Regions from separate parts of the Homo sapiens genome. Here regions 2 and 3 are each linked to region 1. Evidence: promoter capture Hi-C in human tissues and cell types (Jung and others, 2019). All regions are on one chromosome and are shown on one strand. The core of a region is centred on a gene start or on the middle of the fragment in contact, and the rest is flanking DNA. Distances in the headings are between cores, read along the strand shown.

Evidence for each region. The method cuts DNA at HindIII sites, captures the fragments that hold promoters and counts their contacts. A contact is called where the count stands out against the background at its distance.
Region 2: a fragment that was not itself captured here is called in contact with the fragment with the promoter of HOXB13 in region 1 in 2 of the 25 tissues and cell types used here (H1 embryonic stem cells and mesendoderm cells).
Region 3: a contact is called between the fragment with the promoter of UBE2Z here and the fragment with the promoter of HOXB13 in region 1, in 1 of the 25 tissues and cell types used here (mesenchymal stem cells).

The regions. Positions count from the first base shown.
Region 1 is chr17:48,725,931-48,730,798 of GRCh38, forward strand. HOXB13 (homeobox B13) reads right to left here and starts at 2,820. Exons shown (of 2, transcript NM_006361.6): 1 at 2,063-2,820; 2 at 1-1,113. The coding sequence starts at 2,663. The coding sequence ends at 860. The HindIII fragment of the contact is 5,391 bases long and covers 2,305-4,868 here.
Region 2 is chr17:48,555,223-48,560,090 of GRCh38, forward strand. HOXB3 (homeobox B3) reads right to left here. Exons shown (of 5, transcript NM_001384749.1): 3 at 309-396. It overlaps HOXB-AS2 (HOXB cluster antisense RNA 2), which reads left to right and starts at 935. Exons shown (of 2, transcript NR_046610.1): 1 at 935-2,136; 2 at 4,364-4,868. The HindIII fragment of the contact is 5,652 bases long and covers 1-4,717 here.
Region 3 is chr17:48,905,481-48,910,348 of GRCh38, forward strand. It overlaps UBE2Z (ubiquitin conjugating enzyme E2 Z), which reads left to right and starts at 2,927. Exons shown (of 7, transcript NM_023079.5): 1 at 2,927-3,340. The coding sequence starts at 3,024. LOC105371814 (a long non-coding RNA gene) reads right to left here and starts at 3,503. Exons shown (of 4, transcript NR_135674.1): 1 at 3,459-3,503. RefSeq lists silencers at 3,066-3,315, 3,586-3,715 and enhancers at 4,589-4,638, 4,659-4,708. The HindIII fragment of the contact is 7,727 bases long and covers 91-4,868 here.

The DNA.
Region 1 (4,868 bases), core at 1,570-4,069:
AAGTATGCAAGGCTACAAACATCTACTTCACTGGGATCCCAAATGCTCAACAAACCATGACCTGCTTTGGTCAGAACCACCAGAAATATTAAGGGAAGACTCAGAGAGTTTGGGGGAGGAAATTAATGGTGAATTACCCAGGCACTTTCTCAAATCTCTTTTTCTCTGGAAGGAAGGACTGACTAGGGGCAGCCTGCTGGCTTCATTTTCACACGACAGAAAAATCATCGTATTAAGGATGGGTGCTTCCAAGACCAGTGGGTACACCCTATGGGGTGGACAAGGAGGGAGGAAGAGACAGCCTCTACAATTGTCCACCTACCCAGCTGTCAGCTGAGAAAAATGCTAAACGGACATCACAGCCACACAACGAATCTGCCCGTTCCCCTCTCCTCAGTCTTCCTGCTGTTACCAGGGTGAGAGGTGTAATGGAAGGGGGTCTGAGAGAAAGCTTCCCTGCAAAGGGATCGCCTTCCAAATTTATTCATAATTAGCTCAATTCATGAAAGCGGTTTCTAAAGTGCTCTACAGAGCTCTAGATAGAAAATATGAGGCTAACGATCATGGCAGCTAGTACTGGTTATCGTGATTATTGCCACTGTCAGGATGAATGATTATGACTGGGCCAGGTTCTTTGGGAACCCTGGTGGAGTGGGCTGTCACATGGGGTTCCGTCTCCCTGCACATACTGGGTACCCAGGCCGCTCCTGAGGAACAGTCCAGCAGCCAGTGGCCTGGGAAGGGTGTTGTCTCTAGGGGCCTCTCAGCAGAGTCCTTGGCCCCAGCCTGGGCTTGGCAGGTTCCTGGTCTCCCCAGGACACCCCCACTTTCGCTCCTCCCACCCAGGCAAGGAGATCTCTTAAGGGGTAGCGCTGTTCTTCACCTTGGCGAGAACCTTCTTCTCTTTGACCCGGCGGTTCTGAAACCAGATGGTAATCTGGCGCTCCGAGAGGCTGGTGGCTGCCGAGATCTTGCGCCTCTTGTCCTTGGTGATGAACTTGTTAGCCGCATACTCCCGCTCCAGCTCCCGCAACTGCCCCTTGCTGTACGGAATGCGTTTCTTGCGGCCGCGACGAAAGGCGCAGGCGTCAGGAGGGTGCTGCCCGCTGGAGTCTGCGCGGCGTGAAAGGGAGGGAGGAAAAGGCATGGTCAGATACCCACCCATGCAGACCCAGGCCTTGCAAGCCCCAAGCTAAGTCATCTCACAGGTGCACACAGGTCACCCTACAGGCGCACGTGCAATCCTGTTCCTCCAAAGCATACCAGGACAGCACCCTGGCTTCCGGCTTGTTCTCTCACCACCGCTCAGCCTTGGCTCCTGAAGGCCACCCTCACCCATCACTGCTCTCACACCCGCGAATCTGCAAACATACCCACACACCACACACAGTCAGGCCTTTGCCCACCATCACATACGTCCAGTCTTCATGCATTTCCAGACTCTTGGCCACTCTTTTAGATTCTACAGGCAAATTCTGGAAACACGTTTCTGCCCCCACTCCCAATACATGCGCATACACACACACACACACACATTAACCCATCCCAGTGCACACACATATGTCACGGCTGCAGGAAACCTAAATTTTTCTTTGGAAATTGGAAAACTCATCTAATAGAAAGTGAGAGGTTGTATTCTCTACAGTACATCCAATACCTTTTTACCCATCTCCCACACCCACTCCCCACGCACCGAATTGAGAGTTATTTAGCTTTTGTGTAGAATTAGTTTGGAATTGTGCTGGGTAGGGACACCCTGATCCCCACTCAACAGCAAAGAGATCTAAACCTCTCAGACATGTTGAAAGGCTGGTCCCAGGGCCTCCTGGAGAAGTGAGGTGGCCTTCAGGCTTCAGATAGCACCCAGCTCAGGCCCCTCACACTGACCTCCATCCAGGCCCTCCAGCTACTCAGACCTCCTTCAGAGTCCTAATAACCAAGGGAGGAGCACCAAGCTCATCCTCACCAGCTCCAAGTCTCCCTCCTCCTCCTCCCAGGGAAATGCCATTGGGACCCACAACCCCAGGCTCAGAGACAAGGGGACCCAGGGTAATAGAGGTACCTGCAAATGCTGCCTTCCAAAAGGGACCTGGTGGGTTCTGTTCTCCCTGGCAACACATCTGGCTGTTCCAGCCACCAGCGAGAGCCCAAGACTGGTAACTGTCCACAGGCAACAGGGAGTCATGTCGCGGTTCTCCAGGAGCACCCAGAGTCTGCACCACAGACACGTCCAGGTAACTGGCCATAGGCTGGTAGGTTCCCGGATATCCCGGATAGAAGGCAAACTCAGTGGGGCGGCTGGGGTACTCTTCCCCGGCCGTGGGAGTCTCCGCGGGGTACGCGGCCAGGGTGGCTGCCTGGGCACAGGGTTTCAGCGAGCTCCGGGACACTCGGCAGGAGTAGTACCCGCCTCCAAAGTAACCATAAGGCACGGGAGCTGGGGACGTCCCCTGGGGCACCCCAGGGCATGGGTGGCATTGCTTTGGCGGCTCCGCCGAGCCTGGCAGATCCAAGGGGGCATAGTTGACAGCAGGCATCAGCGTAGGCGCCGCTGGGTGGCTGGTCAGAGGGGAGTGGGCGACCAGATTCCGCCCCCCTCCCGCTCCCAGCAAGCCTTCGATATCCTTGGCTCCATCCAAGGTGGCATAATTGCCGGGCTCCATGGAGCCGAGGGTCGGCTCATGAGGTGCGGGGGCGGGGAATCTAGGGGGCACCCAGCTCGCTCTCCCCACCCAGGCCGGGGGAATCCAAAGCGTTTTAAATCGCTCCCAGCTCGCAAGTCGCCTGCATTCGCTCAGCACGGCCGTCTTGACGCAAGAGACGCAGGGGCCCGGGCACGCGCGCTGATTGGCTGCGGCCTGGGGGAGAGAAGCTAATAAAATCCTAAAGGCAGAAACTGCGAAAATACTTTACCCCAGCTTATTCTCTCTCTCTCTCTCTCTCTTTCTCTCTCTCTCTCTCTCTCTCTCTCTCTCTGTCTCTGTCTCTCTCTCTCGCTCTCTCGCTCTTTCTCTCCTCTCTCTCTTCTCCCTCTCTCTCTTCTTTTCCCTCTCCACTCCTCTCTCTCTCATTCCACTTAAAAACAACAAGAGAGAAAAGGAAGGAGGTGTCCTTTCGCTGCTTTCCAGTTTGCAGAGTCTCATTTACACGTCCGGGGGGAGGGGAGGCGTGGTGGGCGGAGGAAGAGGGGACGAGGAGCCGGGCCCCACCTCCTTCTCCTCCTCTCCCTCCCTAGCTTTCTGTCTCCTGCGCTTTGACAGGTTTAACGAGAGAATAAAAAGCTCTCTCTATAAAGTGTCCATCTCCTGGGGGGGAAGGGGAGTCGGGGGTGGGGCTGGGAGGCCGCTCCCGGCCTCAGAGGAGAACCCGGGAATGCGCCTGTGTAAGAGGAGGCTGGGAAATGGGGGTTAATAGGTATTTCTGGCAGCCCCTGGCTTTGGGTCCTGGGTACTAGCACCCCAGTTCATTCCCGGTACCCTTCCTGTCCCAGATGTCCTGGAATGAGCTGCTCCGGGCCCCAGGGAGGTGCCCTGGACGCCCCTTACCCAGGGACTCGCTACTGCCCAGAATGCTCTGGAGGCCCTGATTCGGGTGAGGCTGAGGGAAGAGGCGGGAGACACGAACGTAGACGTAGAAGACATGCGATCTGGATGGAACCCAGGACACTCCACTTCCGGACCTGAAGGGGAAATGGAGCCTCTAGAGTGGCCTGTGGAAGGGTCTGGATTTCCCTTTAAGTAAAGACATACGGAGGGACGGAGACCCACAGGACTTGAGGGAGGGACGGGGAGAGGGAGAGATGAGACTCAGGGACAGCAACACAAAGAGGGAAAGAGAGAAGCTGACAGAGCGGATGGGACAAAATCTTGTAAAATCCTGAAGTGTCAGTCAGAAAAGAGAAAGAAGAGAGGCACTTTCCCCCTTTTTTGGGATCTAAAGAAGTCTGAGGAAGCCAAGCCTGGCTGACTGCCAGAAACCAGCTGCGGGAGTTCTGGACCCCAAGAATACAGACGCCTGTGTGGAGATGCCAGTCTCCCTGCCCTGCAGTCCTCTCCCTATGGTCTGCAAGGGGCCCAGGAAACTGTCCCTGATACTGGCATACTCCCACACAAGCTGAGTACCCAGAAAGCCCAAGACCCCTATCTGCCTCCTGCAAGCTTTAAACTTCCTTACAAGGAAAAGGGAATGGAAGGGGAAACCCCAGCCACTGGCAGAATTGCTTGAGGCCCCTCTGTTGGGGCCTAATGTGCAGTGCAATTCAGAAGAATCAAACGGTTTGTTTCACAAATCTGTCTTTAGAGGTTTTCCGCTTCCTTTACTACCCCTCCCAAATCAAATCCTTCTGTCTGCTTTTTCTAGAACTCCCAGTTTTTCTGGAGAAGACAGGAATGTTTCCATTCTACACGAGGGTCTTGACAATTATATGGAATGGCTTACCCTAAACTCTGGGCAGACTCAATCATAGCCTCTCACCAACCTGACCTTGAACTTGAGCCACTTTGTGGGAAAGGGCCCACAGGCAGTAGTGTACATCACTCCTAATGAGCATTGCTATAATTGAAGACACCAAGCACGAAATCTTCACTAGATCGCATTTGAAAACAATATGGAAGAAAAGGGAGGAGATGTCTCTTCAGTGCTTTCCAGTTTCTCACCAGAGTTTCTTGCTTGTCTAATTATGAACTGCAGAAATATCCAGACTTTTACCTAAAGACTAAGAATTTTTCACCAATTTTTACTTGGTAGATGATAGATATGTAGGGCATGTCCACAGTTTTAGTTTCCACTAGGCAAACACCCACACATGCACATTTATTCATCCTTGTACAGTAGAGGCATTAATAGATCCCTAAATTTAAAAAATAATA
Region 2 (4,868 bases), core at 642-3,141, 170 kb before region 1:
GAGACTTTCTTAGCAGCCGCGGAGAAAATTCAGCCCTGGATCTGGCTGCTGAAAGAAAAGAGAGAGAGGAGAAAAGAGGAGAGAAGCAGGAAGAGAGAGGGGAGAGAGAGAGGGAGAGAGAGAGAGAGAGAGAGAGAGAGAGGGAGGGAGGGAGGGAGGGAGGGAGGGAGAGAGAGAGTCGCTGCGTGGAAGGAAGCTTAAAGCTTGTGAACTCTTCTTGAACCGAGATTGGAGTCATATGGGCCATAAATCATTGAGACATACTCTCCGCCATTCACAAACTGATAGCCTATTTCAGTCCAGCTTACCTTAGCCACCGACGAGGGGAGAACAGGCAGACATAATATATATTCACATCGAGCCCCAGAGCGAGCGGCAGGCGACAAATCTCCCCTCCTTGAAGGCAAAGGAAAAAAAGACCACTGTTTAAAGCTGCGTCGCCCCCCGCCCCCCCGCCCCCGCCCCGCAAAGCCACCCCGGCTGGGGAGCCCGAGGGGCAGACCGGCCAGAGGAGCCGCGCGGCGTCCGCTTCAATTCACTCGGCTTAGGAGCAGGGGTGCGCAGGAGGGAGGGGGTGGGGGAGCGGGAAAAAAAATAGAAGACCGAAAGGTGCCGGGCGGCTCAGCTCGCCAGAATCCAGCTCCGGGCTCCAGCAGGGCTAAGCCGCCACAGTGTGGTTGCCCTATAAGACTGGTACGCCCTACTCTCCGTAACAATGGCCTCTGCTTTTGCACAGGGAAAAAAAACCACACAGACACACACACACACTCACTCACACACAAGCTCACACCCCCCCACCTCTCCCCCTTTAGCAAGCTTAGATGCCTGATAAGGAGGGAAGGTGATGGTGGTGATGGGGAAGGGGGGAAATTTTAAAATACCCGCCTCCCCAAAAAAAGAGTAAGAAGAAAAGAAGGAGGGTTTTTTTTTTTTCCTTAAAGAACAGGTAAAAATTTAAATCTAGATTGGAGGGACAGGGAGGAAGAGGTGAGCAAAGGCAAGGAAGGGCGGTGAAGTTCACAGCTCCCCCCATACCCCACTAGTGAACTATTATGCTAATATGAGAAGTAGTATTTGGAGGCTGAGTCAAAGGCAGGCCTGGCCCGGGGGTGAGGGTGCCGGGTGCCCCTCTGCACTCATTCGCAATTGGAACACCAGGACTTTTTTAGAAAGTAGTTCTGGGTCTCCAACCCTCACACTCTGGCTCCCTCCTTCTGAGTCTCCAGCCCCGGCTTCTTCCCTCCACTACACCCTCTCTATTCCTCCCAAATCTCCCTCCAGTCTCCAGGCCCAGTCTCTAACCAAGGGAGAGGGAAAGACCAGAACTTAAAAAAAAAAAAAAAAAAAAAACACCCCTCCCCCTTTTTCTTTTTGAGAACAGACAACAAGCGGTGAGTGATGATTTTAAAAACTCTGAACATCTTGCAGGGGGAGGAGGGTTGAGAAAAGGGTGACAAAAGGAGGACTCTGTGTTTTAGTTTGAGCTCCAGACTGGCTGGCAGTAGACGGGCTGAAAGAACTTCATGGATAAGTTTCTGTTATGATTCTCACCTCCGAATAGGCAGAAGGGGCTAAGAGGTGATAAGGACATTTGTACTTCTAAGAAGAGAAGAACTAGCAGGGTCGCTTAATTTTAAATGCACTGGCAGAAGAGATGGAAGATGGTTATTATTATTATTCAGAACAACCCTGTTTGTTTCTCTCTGCCCTGCAAGATTTATGACTCTTGGCACAAGTGAGGAAGGCCACAAAAGCTAAAGTTTTCTTAGGGTGTGTTTGAGCAGGGCAGGAAAAGGCAAGGAGGAGGCCTGTAGGAGGAAGACAGGAGCCAAAAATGTAGGTGTCTGCAGATTTGGGACAGGGGGTGGGGAATAGTCATTCCGGGAGGAAGGAAAAGACAAAAAGAGCACCAGGACATTTCCCAAAGCAGGAGTGTTTGCAACTCTGCCTAACTGCTGACTCGGAGCTAGGGGATGAAATAGAAAGCTGACTCTTTTCTCTAAAGGCAGCTTGGAAAACTGGTCCTCTTAACTTCATGTAAGGCACTACCCTGTGATTTCCTGGTTAGAATACTTGGCTTTTGCCTTCTCCCATCTGGATGCACCAGAAGAGGGAACGGGACTGGGGACAACAAAGGTGAGAGTTGATTTCCAGCTTTTGTGTTCCCTCCAGCATAGGTTGGAGGTGTCTGGCAAAGCTTCCCTCATTCCCTCTCTCTCCCCACTCACAGGCTCTACTTTGGGATGAGATAGGGAGTGGCCCCTGGCCTCCAGCCCCTACTTCTTCCAGGCAAGGCTAAGTCAGGCCAGGTGATTTGGAGCAGCCGGTTTCCAGGGGCCCTGATAAACTGGGGGTACCTATGGCCTTCCTGCCCTCCAGCAACAGAAGCCACTTGCAGAGCCTCAGAATGTAATGTCCTGAGGACCCCACCTCCCACCTAGAAAGTTGACAGCTGGGGGGAAGCACGGGTTGGGGGACATGGGGATGGAGGGTGGGAGCTATTTTTCTGTGTTTATTAGCTATTATTCTGTGTTTATTAGTATTTTTCTGTGTTTATTAGTAGTATCAAGAAAATAAAACATCCAAGTCAGACCTAGACTTGGGGCTCAAGCCAGCCTGGAACCCCAAAGAGACCTGTTAGGGGTGCCTGAGCATGTGGCTGCAAAAAGTCTGTCCTGAGATCTCTACACTCTGGTTAGAGACCTACAGGGTCAGACCCCATGTAACTTTGAGCTTGGTGGGTCAGGGACTCAGGCCAGGGAGGCTTCCAGAGGCTTAAAGAAACCAGTACCTTTGGGGTTTTTTTTTCTATCACTCCCCCAAATAAAAAAAAAGCCAAGAATGTACCTCAAAACCTCTGCTGTCCTAGCTGTTACTATCATTGGGTTAGAGAAGGTCATTGTAAAACTGAGAGAAGAGGAGAACCTGATCGCTTTTGGGACTGCGCAGCTTTGCCTCTAGGAATAACACGAGAGTCCAGAAGGCACCCAGGCAGCCTCGGGCCGGCTGCAGGAGAAGCGGGCCTGGAGCTGAGCTGGGAGTGGAGGAGTGTTCCAGAGACAACAGCAGACCCCTCCCTTCCCCAAGCCTCCTCAACTCTTTGTGGTCCCTCGGGCTACAGAAGGCAGTGGGGCATAGTGGGGTGGGAGTGAAAAAGAGGACCGAGAAGCAAGAAAATGAACCTGGAGAAAATCTCAGAGGACATATACCCCCAAATGCGGTAGGAGATGGAGTGGGGGCTTCTTAATTCTGGAGTACAGAGCCCATTTGGAATACTTGGGAGGCAATTAGATCCCAGTTTAGTTTCTGTCTTGCCTTTTTTCTTCCATTCTCAGAGGTCTCTGGCGAGCAGGCGGGCTGCCCTCTGATTAGGGCTGGGAGGCTGGAGGACGGAGGGTGGAACAGGCACCCCTAAGGGCCCCTGTTTGGACTGAGGTGTTGCTGCTAGCCAGGGGATTTTCAAACTTCAGGGGATAAAGGCTGGTAGTGAGGAGTTTGAGCAGGGAACTTGGGGTGGGGGACGCCAGAGCAGGCTGAGGGAAGACTTTGGGGTCTGGGAAAAGAGAAGCAGGAGAAGGGCTTATCATCCCTGAGAGTGAAGCCATGATTTCGGAACAGACTGGAGATACAGAAGAGGGAACAATTTCTTCTTGGATTTGGGAGGGAAACCTGGAAAACTGTGTGTGTGTGCCCATGTGTGTAGGGTGTGTGTGTGTGTGAGAGAGAGAGAGAGAGAAAGGAGGAGAAAGAGAAATTGAAAAAGAGGAAAATTGAGTAAGAGACAGAGACACTAGCATAAACTAATGAAGTAAAAAAATAATAAGGGTAAAGATTAGAGAAAATGCCCTTCTTCACAGACATCTTTTCCTCTTCCATTCCGTTTCTTCAGAGCCAGAGCACTCGCTCTGGCACTTCTCTCCCCCACCCCACTGGGTACCCAGTATCAGGCGACGGGAGCACTTTAAACCCTCTGGAACAATCAAGGGCTACCCGCCCTTCTAGACCTCGGCGGCGGGATCGTGCCTGTTTCTCTCCTCCCCCAAAAATGCATCAACTAGCAAACAAAAATTCTCTCAATAAGGGCATACTGGTTGGCTCTTTTAAAACCAATTTCTGATCTCAGACTTGGGGCAGTCAAGGATCCTGCCCCTGGCTCAATCCACACAAAATTTGCCTGGCCCAAAGGCTAGCTTGGGAGCTAGGACCTGTAAGCCTGGGGCGAGATGTTTGGCGATGTGTTTCTTCCTGGCCCTGTCTGGGTTCCCAGTCCCACACTGTTTTCCAGCTTCACTGCCCAACTTTGTAGCCCTAGAAAAGTGGTGTAAAGGTCACACACTCACCCGAATCTCCATTTTCCCCTAAGTATTAACGAAGATTTCAAAGCTGGGAGTTGTAAAGTGGGAATTGCTAATGAAGAAGGCTCTTGGCATTTGGATCCCCATCTCCAGCTCTCCAATAAGCCAGAGCAGGAGGGAACAAAGGGGCACCCGGAAGGGAGAAGAGGAGACTCGCATAGACACTGCTCAGCAATAGTGGGGATCAAAAGAAGAAAAAGGTCGCTGCAGTGGAAGAAGAAAAATCCAAGCTGTACTTTTTCCCCACCCCACGTGTGGGGGCGCTGCCCTCTCCCCAGCTGAGCCTGTGAAGGGGTGGCAGGACAAAAAGGGCAGCCACAAGGGTCTGCGAAGTCCACTCGATGACCACGGAGGCCGCCTGAACATGCTAATGAGGGGATGGCGGTGCTGCCAGCGAGTTGGGAGCCTCAGGCAGGTGGGCTCCTTGGTGGTGATAGATCCCAATCTGAATCAGGGCTCCCGCCTCACCTAGAAGCTCAGCCTTAGCCTGGCAAACCCCACCCCCAGCAAGTG
Region 3 (4,868 bases), core at 1,677-4,176, 180 kb after region 1:
ACCCCATCTCTACAAAAAATATAAAAAATTAGCCAGGCGTGGTGGTGGGCGCCTGTAGTCCAGCTACTTGGGAGGCTAGGGCAGGAGAATGGTGTAAACCTTGGAGGTGGAGCTTGCAGTGAGCCGAGATCGCGCCACTGCACTCCAGCCTGGGCGACAGAGCAAGACTCCAAACCAAAAAAAAAATAAAAATAAATAAATAATAGTACCTACTACTTCACTGAGTGTTGAAAGGAATAAAGCCAAAGTATACAAAATGCCTGCCACATATTAAACACTCAATAAATGTCTGCTAAAAAAATAATTTTTTAGGCCAAGCACGGTGGCTGACGCCTGTAATCCCGAGCACTTTAGGAGGCCAAGGCGGAAGGACTGCTTGAGCCCAGAAGTTCGAGACCAACCTGGGCAACATGGTGAAACCTCGCTTCTACAGAAAAATACAAAAATTAGCCGGGCATCGTGGCACGTGTCTGTAATCCCAGCTACTTGGAGGGCTGAGGCAGAGGTTGCAGTGAGTTGTGATCCCATCACTGCACTCCAGTCTGGGTGACAGAGCAAGACCCTGTCTCAAAACAAATCAATCTTTAGCTCTCCATAAATCTTGGTCATTATCCTTCAGGTCTGCATTCCATTACTGTAAATTCATAAAACTCTAAAAGGCAGGAAGGGTGGGGTGGGTGGATGACTTCTGTAATCCCAGCACTTTGGGAGACCGAGAAGGGCGGATGACTTGATCCAACTCCAAAAGGAGTTGGAGACCTTCCTGGCCAACATGGTGAAACCTCGCCTCTACTAAAAAAATACAAAAAATTAGCCAGGCGTAGAGGCGCCTCTACTAAAAAAATACAAAAAATTAGCCAGGCATAGAGGCATGCTTGTAATCTCAGCTACTGGGGAGGCTGAGGCAGGAGAATTGTTTGAACCCAGGAGGCGGAGATTGCAGTGAGCCACGATTGCGCCATTGCACTCCAGCCTGCGTGACAAGAGCAAGATTCCCTCTTTAAAAACAAAAAACAAAAAACAAAAAAACTCTAAAGCCAGACTCTTTTTTTTGAGACGGAGTCTCACTCTTTTACCCAGGATGGAGTGCAGTGACTCAGTCTCGGCTCACTGCAACTTCTCCTTCCCGGGTTCAAGTGATTCTTCTGTCTCAGCCTCCTGAGTAGTTGGGACTACAGGCGCCTGCCAACACACCCGGCTAATTTTTGTATTTTTAGTAGAGACGGGGTTTCACCATATTGGTCAAGCTGGTCTCGAACTCCTTACCTCAGGTGATCCACCCACCTCGGCCTCCCAAATTGTTGGGATTACAGACGTGAGCCACCGTGCCCGGCCCAGACTTCTTTTTTAAAAAACCAAACTTGGTGGCAAAACATCCAAAGTGAGGCTATTCATTTGACTTGGTACGAATGTTCATACACTTTGATGCAGAAATGTCAATAGGTTTGGCTACCCGGCGCTGCCCCACTCCTTGCTTGGTGTGTCATTCCAAAGTCTGAAATACATCTGGCCCCACTGGTTTCCAGTTAATATTGATCCTATATTTTTGCTAGGGAAAAAAGTTTTTGTTTTTGTTTTGAGACGGAGTCTTGCTCTGTCGCCCAGGCTGGAGTGCAGTGGCACGATCTCCGCCCACTGCAAGCTCCGCCTCCCGGGTTCACGCCATTCTCCTGCCTCAGCCTTCCGAGTAGCTGGGACTACAGGCGCCCGCCACCACGCCCGGCTAATTTTTTGTATTTTTAGTAGAGACGGGGTTTCACAGTGTTAGCCAGGATGGTCTTGATCTCCTGACCTAGTGATCCGCCCGCCTCAGCCTCCCAAAGTGCTGGGATTACAGGCATGAGCCACCGCGCCCGGCAAGGAAAAACAGTTTTTTAGGAAGGCCCCTGTCATTCTTAGTCCATAGGAATTTTTTTTTTTTTTTTTGAGACGGAGTCTGGCTCTGTCGCCCAGGCTGGAGTGCAGTGGCGTGATCTCAACTCACTGCAAACTCCGCCTCCCGGGTTCAAGTGATCCACCTGCCTAAGCCTCCTGAGTAGCTGGGACTACAGGTGCACGCCACCACGCCCGGCTAATTTTTGTATTTTTAATAGAGGCGGGGTTTCACCATGTTAGGCTGGTCTCGAACTCCTAACCTCGTGATTCGCCCACCTCGGCCTCCCAAAGTGCTGGGATTACAGGCGTGAGCCACCGAGCCTGGCAGATTATTTTTCACTTTAAACATTTTAGGAAAGACCCAAAGAATCCTCAGGGTTTACACTCACAGTACCTCGATTCCTGTATATTCCAAGATTTGTGGGAAGAAAAAGTACTAAGCTTGGAGTCAGGAGGCCTGATGTTTCTTCCTTTCACCAAGCTTCTCTAGTTCTGTTTCATTATCCCCATGGCAACAACTAGCAACAGTGACTGGCATTTAGTAGGCCCTTCATAAATATATGTTGAATAAACTCTAAAAGAGGTAGCTTTTCATTCCAAGTTGAGTTCTCTCTTGGTCCTGTTGCAGGCAAGGGCAATGGTACCCTGCCCTAGGTGCACAAGTGTGCAGGAGGGATCAATCGCAGAGCCTTTCCGAGAGAAGGGGCCCAAAGCGAGTCAACTTCTCTACTGAGCTTCCCATGAGGATGCTGGATCCCCAATCCTAACCATGCAGACGTCTGAGGGTCGCCGCCATTAACGGGAATGATATGGCCCTTCCTCCCCCACTCCCTCCTCTCTTCTCCCCTTTCAACACTTGAATTGGGCTCTCCGCTACTTCCGCACAGCGCAGGACCCACACGAGCCCAGAACCATCACGGCCTGCTAGTTCCCACCCCTCCCGTCCTGGAGGACCGTAGGTGGACGCTCTTGCAGAGCGCCTCTCGCTGGTTGGGGCGGGGGTGGGCGGAGCCAGCACCGTCTGGGCTGTGGAAGCGGAGGGGGTGGGGACACTCTGGCCCGGTTCTCGGTGGTGCGGGAGCGGGCGGGAGCAGCGGCCGCTCTGGTCGGCGGACGTGCTGCCGAGTAGTCCCGGAAGCGAAGCAGCGATGGCGGAGAGTCCGACTGAGGAGGCGGCAACGGCGGGCGCCGGGGCGGCGGGCCCCGGGGCGAGCAGCGTTGCTGGTGTTGTTGGCGTTAGCGGCAGCGGCGGCGGGTTCGGGCCGCCTTTCCTGCCGGATGTGTGGGCGGCGGCGGCGGCAGCGGGCGGGGCCGGGGGCCCGGGGAGCGGCCTGGCTCCGCTGCCCGGGCTCCCGCCCTCAGCCGCTGCCCACGGGGCCGCGCTGCTTAGCCACTGGGACCCCACGCTCAGCTCCGACTGGGACGGCGAGCGCACCGCGCCGCAGTGTCTACTCCGGATCAAGCGGTGAGCCGGGGTTTTTCCTCCCCCAGCCCCGAGCTCCGGGGCTCGACCTTCCCCGCCCCCCACCCTCTCCCACTACAACTCACCCCCCACCCACTGCGCTGCCCTCGCGGCGGCCCACCTCCACGGCCCAAATCTTGCCAGCTCCGGGCGTCGGGATCCAACTCCCTTCTCCCCCCACCCTCAGACCCGCAAGCACCAACCCCCGCCTCGTGTGCCCAGATCCGACCCCGCCCCTCGACAACCTCCCGTGAGCCCTCCGTCTCCATTCCGGCCACCCTCCCCCACACCTCCCACCTCCGGGTGGAAACCCGACCCTTTAGCGCTTCAGTAACGCCCCCTCCCGCCTTCGGCGCCGCCCCTATTTCCCCTTCCCCACCCCAACCTTGCTAGATGCTGCCCGCAGGCCCCACCCATCGGTCCCCTCTCTTCTCCTCTGGAGCCCCGTTCCTAACACAGACGAACTCAGCTTCCTTTGCCATGCCTCTGACTCGAGCCAACCTTTCTTTTTATCCTCCGTTTTTCTCAGATTCCCTCCACACAGTCTTTTCCCAGGTCTAGATCGCTTCCCTCGCCCCAATCTTTCCTTGAACCCCTTTTCCAGTGTCCCAAAGCTGTCCACTCTTACGCCTCTTCCAGAAACACAGGCTACCTCCCCCCAATTCCCCAGTGCCACTCTGGATTGTAATATCCCACTCAGGAGCTTCTTTCTTGTAATTTCCCTCCCCCCACCCCCCACCCTCCCCGGGTCGTCTGTTTTACTTCTATGAAGCAAATATACTCATCAAATATAGGAACAAAGGCCTAAGTCCTTTCTGTGCTTATTTCTTGGGTGACTGATCTTAGATCCTATCATTTAGTAGATGATGTTTTCCAGAAGCACATAGAATAGTACCTATCGCATAAGAAAAGGGCAGTGCTCTTTAGCTATTAATCCTGAAACCTGTTTGACTTCTCCCCATGCCCCCATCACAAGCATCTTCGTTTAGTTCTTATTCCCCATGTTCCACGTCCTTTCAGATGTCTCTGTGTCTACTTTTCAAGGTTGTAATAAAAATTAATATAATGTGTGTAAAGTACCTGGCACAGTGCCTGACACAGGAGGTCAACTGTGGAGGGATTGCCACCTCTAACTGAAACTCAGCACTCAACTCTTTTCCTCCTCCAGCCATTTCAGTCATCCAATTCTGACATACCTTTGAGTTTGGCCAATGCTTTCCTCTGCTTTGTCGCCTATTTGCCCTTTTTATGTCCCTACCCACCCTAGCAAGTCCCTAGGCTTTTCGCCACCTAGAATGTTCTTTAGCCCCTTGCTCTCAACTGATCCATTCCAGTTGGTGAGATATGAGTCAGAAATCTTATCTCCTATGGAAGTCCACATGTCATCTTCCAGATGGGAGATTCTTAGCAATTTCTGAGGATCCCTCCCCAGCCTGAAGAGATCTCTACCCTGAGACACCCCTGGGCAAGAAGGCCACCATGATAGTCTTACTCTCTGCTGGCTGGCTTGCTTCATACAATCCCCTTACCA